Linked DNA regions of Homo sapiens: region 1 is linked to region 2. Evidence: promoter capture Hi-C in 16 types of primary human blood cells and fetal thymus (Javierre and others, 2016). All regions are on one chromosome and are shown on one strand. The core of a region is centred on a gene start or on the middle of the fragment in contact, and the rest is flanking DNA. Distances in the headings are between cores, read along the strand shown. Region 1 holds the start of SHKBP1 (SH3KBP1 binding protein 1). Region 2 holds the start of B9D2 (B9 domain containing 2).

Evidence for each region. Contacts are between HindIII fragments. The CHiCAGO score rates a contact against its expected background, and 5 or more counts as called.
Region 1: a contact is called between the fragment with the promoter of SHKBP1 here and the fragment with the promoter of B9D2 in region 2, in 1 of 17 cell types (neutrophils). The highest score is 5.1, in neutrophils.

Annotation. Positions count from the first base shown.
Region 1 is chr19:40,574,584-40,578,236 of GRCh38, reverse strand. SHKBP1 (SH3KBP1 binding protein 1) reads right to left here and starts at 1,364. Exons shown (of 18, transcript NM_138392.4): 1 at 1,252-1,364; 2 at 953-1,006; 3 at 796-841; 4 at 607-680; 5 at 25-83. The coding sequence starts at 1,337. It overlaps SPTBN4 (spectrin beta, non-erythrocytic 4), which reads right to left. Exons shown (of 36, transcript NM_020971.3): 36 at 1,773-2,826. The coding sequence ends at 2,668. RefSeq lists silencers at 1,266-1,335, 1,356-1,535, 1,886-1,975. The HindIII fragment of the contact is 21,373 bases long and covers 1-3,653 here.
Region 2 is chr19:41,362,657-41,366,318 of GRCh38, reverse strand. It overlaps B9D2 (B9 domain containing 2), which reads left to right and starts at 2,170. Exons shown (of 4, transcript NM_030578.4): 1 at 2,170-2,361; 2 at 2,796-2,887. The coding sequence starts at 2,800. It also overlaps a transcript of TMEM91 not described here. RefSeq lists an enhancer at 2,195-2,314. The HindIII fragment of the contact is 18,483 bases long and covers 1-3,662 here.

The DNA.
Region 1 (3,653 bases), core at 115-2,614, 790 kb after region 2:
TGATAGCTGGGGGCTCCCACTTACCCAGAGGAGTGAGCCCATAGAACTGGGCTTCATGGAGGAGGCTGGAACCGTGGACACCCCTGGGTAGTAGAATTGACTAGAGGTCAGGGTCTAGGTGTGGGGGTGAACAGAGAATGCTGAGAGGGTAATTTTCAAAACTGCACAGAGAATGTCAAGGGGTAGAAAGTTTTGATGGAATAAAGATGCTAAGGAGTGATGATATGGGTGGAGGAAATGTTGAGTGTGTGTGTGTGTGTGTGTGTGTGTGTGTGTGTGTGTGTGTGTAGGGAGAAATCGAAGGACATAAAATTTTAACATGATCAAGATTCTCATGAAGTTTTGCCTGTTTGCTTTTTTAGAGAAGGGGTCTCGCTATGTTGCCCAGGCTAGTCTCCAAATCCTGGGCTCAAGTGATCCTCCCACCTCGGCCTCCCAAAGTGTTGGGATTACAGGCGTGAGCAATCCCGGCGCGCCCGGCCTGTGATCAAGGTTCTGAATGAGAATTCTAATAGAATGGAGCTCACGTGGACATTCAGAGGAGGTGAAAGAACTCCTCAGGGACTGAAGACAGTGAGGGACTCCCTCCCCTTTTTCCATGCCAACCTGGGATCCAACTCTTTGGTGCGCAGGAAGTTGAGGATGGGGGCGAAGACTGTAGGGTCCCTGTCGATGAAGATCTGCGGGAAAGGGGGGCAGAGGATGGATGGGGTAAAAGGCAGGACTGAGTGGGGTCCTGCCCCTCTTCCTACCAACCCCTCCCCCCCATCCCATTTCAGTTCTTGTCCGACTCACTGCTCCGGTCTCATCTTTCAGCGTCGAGATGCGTCCGCTCAGAAGACTGCAGGGAAGGGACACCGAGCAGGCGTCACGGGCCGGGGGAGTGGATATTAGGTCTCCCACGCCCTCTCCATCCCTCCTACCCTCGCCCCAAACTCGCTCTCCCGATCACCTGGAGAAGAAGGAGTCTGGGATCCAGGTGAGAGTCTGGCGAGAGGTACTGAATCTGGGCGGGGAAGGTAAACGGACGCAAGAGATGAAGAGGAGCGGGTGAGGAATGCGTCCCCCTCCCGCAGGATCCAGGGTTCCCTCCCCTTCCCCCTCCCCCGGCGTTTTTCCAGAATCTCGCGCCTCCAAAGGGGGGGGGGGCGGAGCAACCCTTGATGGACAGGGATTCCCCCAGGAGAGGCGGATACTCCCACCCCGCTTCCCGCCCCCGAGGATGGGACCTCAGGAGTCTCCCACACTCACCTCTTGCCTCCCACATTCAGATGAATGACTTCCCCGGGAGGCCCCCGACTGGGGACCCCCTCGGCTGCAGTAGCCGCTGCTGCCATGGCCCCCGGGCGAGCCGGCTGGCCCGCACCCACTTCCGGGTGTGCACCCGGACCCCGCCTCCATAGGCTGCTCATTGGGCCAGAGACTCCAGGAGTCACTAGCGATTGGACAGAGCGCCTGCCCATCGCGGTTAACTTTTCCGCCTCCTTAAAGGGGTCCGCCTTTCCTGAACTTGACGGGGCGGACCCGGAGTCTCCTTTGGGGAAGTTTATTACGAAGCATAACGAAATATTCTCCATCCCTCTAGGTTCTCGTCAAGGGGCGTGTGTTTAGACCCCGAAATTAAGTCCACATAAAAGGGTACATCTGGATGTTCTCCGCAGCCACGGTACCCCCGTGCCCCTCTCCCCACCCCGCACCCACCCCTACAGCCACCACAGCCCTCCTTTCAATCCTCCCGGGCGCAGCCCAGAAAACCCAAACAAAGGACCATAGACCGTCAAAGCCAAAGGGTTTATTATAGGTACATACAGTGTGCGCCCGCCACACCGCCCCACACCCCCGGGCCCCAGCGGCTTCTCCAGGCGGCCATGGGGACTGCCCACAACCCAATCCCCCGACTCCCCAGGGAGGTGCTCCAGCCAGAAGCATGCAGGGGTGGGCTTCCCCTCGCCCCTCCCCTCATGAAGTGGCATTTACAACTGGAGGGGGGAGGAGAGAGGAAAACAGTTTTGAGCTTTGACGCCCCTCCCATTAAAAGCCTTCGCGGATGCGGGGCGGGGGAGGAGGAGATCGACGTTTTGCAAAAATAAACTAAGTCAGGAATTAACCGCATGGCTCTGAGGCGGCGGAGTGCAGGGGGCTAGGGCCCCTTCACTCCCCCCTCCCAGACAGAGATCAAGGCAGCATTGGAAGTGAGGTAAAGGCGGGGAGGGGGTGTCCCCTCCCTGCCCCCTAGCACCCTGGATGGTCCAGGGGACCTCACCAGCGCCCCCGTGCCCATCCCTAGGGCAGAGAGGGGGGCAGGAATTACTGCCCCCACCACCCCAGCTTCTTGGGGCAGGATCTGCAGATCGGGGCTGGGGGCTTGGCTCAACTGGCCCCCTGCCCACCCCCATCAAGCTCAGTTATTGCATAAAAATAAGGGACCCCCAGCACCTGGGGTGGGGGTGGTGAGTGGGAAGGGGCCGAGATATGGCTATAGGGGCAGCAATCTCCCCACCACTTCTTGGGGTGCAGGAGAAGTCCCCTCCTTTCCGGTGCCCACCATGTCACGCGTCCTCAGTGTTGGAACTAGGGGCTCCCGCCCCTGCGGAAGAAAAAGTGTCTTTGTGCCCACAGTGCGGAAAAGAGGGGAGACGAGATGTGTCAGGTCCTGGGGGTGGGAAGTCACTTCCTGCGCCCGCTGGCCCTGCGATCTCCGCCTTCCCTCTTAGGGTTGCCCTCATCTGTGGATGAAGTAGTGGGTAGTGTCTGGCCCCAGCGGGCGATCTCTGCGTGTTCCGCCACCGAGGAAGCTACAGCCTCCAGCCAGCCGTTCATCTCCTCCTGGGGGAAGAAACAGGGCACAGAGGCCGTATTTGGAAGAGAGAAGCTGGAATAATAGGTGAATTTCAGATCAGACTACCCTCTCTGAAATTCAGTTTTCTCATCTATTAAAAAGGGATGATGATGATGATGCAGTTACATAGCAATATGTGCCAGGCTCTGTTCCAAACACTTTAGTGGATTAATTCCCTTAAACCTATGCAATAGGATTGTATATACTTCCTACTACAGAGATAAATGACACAAACAATGATAATAATATGGGCAGGCACTACTAGAGCACTGATATTTACTAGGCCCTGTGCTAAGTATCAGTTTATCATGTATCAATTAAACATGGAGCAATTTAATTCTCACAGTAACCCTATGATAAGAGACTTTTTTTTTTTTTTTTTTGAGACAGAGTCTTGCTCTGTCCCCCAGGCTGGAGTGCAATGGCTCGATGTCAGCTCACTGCAACCTCCATCTCCCAGGTTCAAGAGATTCTTGTGCCTCAGTCTCCTGAGTGTCTGGGACTACAGGCACGTGCCACCATGCCTGGCTACTTTTTGTATTTTTAGTAGAGATGGGGTTTCGCCACGTTGGCCACACTGGTCTTGAACTTCTGACCTCAAATGATCTGCCCACCTCAGCCTCCCAAAGTGCTGGAATTACAGGTGTGAGGCACCATGCCAGGCCAAGAAACTATTTTTAATCTTCATTGTGCAGATAAGTAAAAGAAGGCATGTAGTGGGTAAAGGCCTACTTCTGGCCGGGTGTGGTGGCTCATGCCTGTAATCCCAGCACTTTGGGAGGCTGAGGCGGGTGGATCACCTGAGGTCAGGAGT
Region 2 (3,662 bases), core at 921-3,420:
GATGGACAAAATGGGGGCTTGAGAAAAGAGAATGCAAGGCTGGTGCCACCACTAGGGGACCAGGGGCCCCAAGAGCTGAAAGGTTAGAGCTGTCTACCTCACCCACACAGCATCCAGAAATAAATAAATAAATAAATACATTTTCCCCAGCTCCAGCTTAAAGGACAGAAAGATCATTTAAAAGTGAAACCTCTGCCAGGTGCAGAGGCTCACTCCAGCCTGGGCAACAGAGCAAGATTCTGTCTCAAAAAAAAAAAAAAAAAAAAGTAAATAAATAAAATAAAAAAGAAAATACAAAAAGTAGCTGGGCCCAGGCGAGGTGGCTCATGCCTGTAATCCCAGCACTTTGGGAGGCTGAGGCAGAAGGATCACATGAGGCCAGGAGTTCGAGACCAGCCTGACCAACATGGTGGAACTCCATCTCTACTAAAAGCACAAACATTAGCTAGATATAGTGGTGGGTGCCTGCAATCCCAGCTACTAAGGAGGCTGAGACAGAAGAATTGCTTGAACCTGGGAGGCGGAGGTTGTGGTGAGCAGAGATCATGCCACTGCACTCCAGCCTGGGCGACAGAGGGAGACTCTGTCAAAAAAAAAAAAAAAAAAAAAAACCCGGCCGGTCACGGTGGCTAACGCCTGTAATCCCAGCACTTTGGGAGGCTGAGGCGGGTGGACCACCTGAGGTCAGGAGTTTGAGACCGGTCTGGCCAATATGGTGAAAACCCGTCTCTACTAAAAATACAAAAATTAGCTGGGTGTGGTGGTGCACGCCTGTAGTCCCAGCTACTCGGGAGGCTGAGGCAGGAGAATCTCTTGAACCCGGGAGGCAGAGATTGCAGTGAGCTGGGATCGCACCACTGCACTCCAGCCTGGATGACAGGGGGAGACGCCATCTCAAAAAGTAAAAAACCAAAATTATAACGAGGGTACAACATTTCAATAGGATAACATTTATATTAAACAATTCAATGGAATACTTCACTAGTTGATATATGCATTATTAATGGGGTCTCCCTATATTCGAACTTCTGGCCTCAAGAGCTCTTCCCGCCTCAGCCTTCCAAAGGGCTGGGATTACAGTTATGAGCCACCGCGCCTAGCCAATGGTAGCTTGTAAATACTTTGTATCTATTGGCCTGGCTGGGTGGCTCACGCCTGTAATCCCGGCAGTTTGGGAGGGAGAACTGGGAGGATAGCTAGAGCCCAGGAGGTCAAGACAAGACTGGGCAACATAGCAACATAGCAGGACTCCATCTCTTAAAAAAAAAAAAAAGAATTAGCCAGCCGTGGTGGTGCATGTCTGTGATACCAGCTACATGGGAGGCTGAGGTAGGAGGATCCCTTGAACCCAGGAGTTAAGAGGCTGCAATGAGCTGTGATCGAGCCACCGTACTCCAGCCTGGGTGACAGAGTGAGACCCTTTTAAGGAGCCTTGATGGGACCTGATGACTGGCTTGATGTGGGAAATGATGGCATCTAGGATGGCATCCAGGGACAACATCTCCATTTCTTGATTGATAAATCAATCAATAGGAAAGAGGATTTTCTGCAAATAAGGGAATCTTAGTTCCTCATTTCTCTTCGCTACCCCAACCGCTCCTTGCTCAGAATCAAGCAGTAACAGTGAACTTGGTAGTAGCTCCGAGAAGGAAGTTGGACTTATCCAACTTCCTTCCTTCCTTGTCCTTGAGAAACCTAGGGGAACTCTAAAACGGAAGCAGAACCCACTCCCCAACTTCTCCACTCTCTGAATGAGGAGTGATTTTTTTGCTTTGTTTTCCAGTTACAAGGCCGGGGATGTACACGAGGTCCTGGAAGGAATTCCCCCTTGGTCCTGGTTCAATCTCTGATTTGTGATCCCGGACCACAGAGAGCTCTTCGGTGGGGTAGGCGCAGCACGGAGCAGTTAGGGATTTGCTTTTTTGGTAAAGAAGGTATCTGGGAGAAACTGCACTCAAACTTCCTCAGCCACACTCAACATGGCAGCTTCCTAGCCACGCCCAAAATGGCGGAACCCTTTGCCGTAGCTGGAGAGACGCTATTTTCCCAAAATGGAGCGGAGGAGGAAAATGTCCATCACAGCTTCACCCCGCCCCCCGCAGACGGCTAGCACCAATTAGTAGCGCGCAGAGCGAGTACAAAGCTAGGGGAGGAGCCTGCTGTTGCCCCAGCAACAACCACGGAAACCAAGACGAGCGCGGTCGCGGAAGTATCGCGGCTTACATATCTCGCAGCCAGGCGGGTCCTGGGAGAGGCGCGAGCCAGGCCTGGTCGGCGCCCGCGGAGAAAAGAAGCAGTCAAGCCCATGAACTACAACCCCGGTTGCCGCTTTCTCCTCTCCTAACCGTTAAGTGCGCTAAGGTAGGAATGACGCATGCGCTGCGCTTAGAGGCGGGGTTAAGTCGGACCTGAACTCATAACGCATGCGCCTTATGGAGCTTGCTGGGGGAGGGAAGCGGGGTGGCTGGCGTGACGCGGAAGGCGGGTCTTTTGCGCTCGTGGGCGGAGCCATAGCCCCTTCGGGCGGGGCTTTCCGCCGACCTGAACCCGAAAAGGTTATTTTGGACTTCCCAGAGTTAAATGCTGGTTCCCCAGACAAGGGTCCCCCCATTTTTTCCAGGCTTTCATGGGTTGGCAATTAGGATCTGTGGTCAAGACCTCAGCCTCAGGGGTGTGACGAAGCTAGCTTGGAATCCTAGTACTACCCTTTACTTGCTGGGCCTCAGTTTCCCCCCCGTCAAATGGAGATAATACACTTACCTCACAGGGTTGTGATTATATTTTTCCCCTCCCAGGGCCATGGCTGAGGTGCACGTGATCGGGCAGATCATAGGGGCCAGCGGTTTCTCGGAAAGTAGCCTCTTCTGCAAGTGGGGCATTCACACAGGTATTCCCCCAAGCCTGGTTCATTTCCACACCAAGACCCCTAGCCTAGAGGCTACATGCTCCTTCCTCCACCCCTTAACGCAGACTCTTAACCTCATTTCCATCAGTTCTCAGTACTCCAGGCCCAGCCCACACCCTGTCCACATGAGTCTCAAGCTCCCATCTTTGTGTGTGTGAGGGGTGGGATACAGACAGGGTCTCTCTCTGCGCCCGGGCTGGAGTAAGGTGGTGTGATCATAGCTCAGTGCAGCCTCGAACTCTCGGGCTCTAGTGATCCTCCCGCCTCAGCCTCCTGAGAAGCTGGGACTACAGACACGCACCACCAAATCTGGCTAATTTTTTTTATTTTTTGTAGAGACAGGGTCTCGCTATGTTGCCCAGGCTGGTCTCGAACTCCTGCGCTCAAACAGGCCACCCACTTCAGCCTCTCAAAGTGCTAGGATTAAAAACGTGAGCCGCCACGTCCCAGGAAAGTAATTTTGTTCATGCTTCCCCAACTGAGGCCCTATAGAGTCATGGTATAGTGTAATGGTTAGGGTCATGGGCTGCCAGATCTGCATTTAAATATTAACTCCCCCACCTATTAATTGGAGACCTTTGGACTCGACCACTTTGAGCCTCAGTTTCCTTGTTTCAAAGTGAAGCTAATAGTAGCTAAGAAGCAGCACAGGTTTGAGGTTAAGAGCACAGACTGCCTGGGTTCAAAACCAGTTATTGCTTGTTAAGGCACCCTTGGGCTGATTATGTGAACTTGGGCACTTCTCTTCACCTCGACT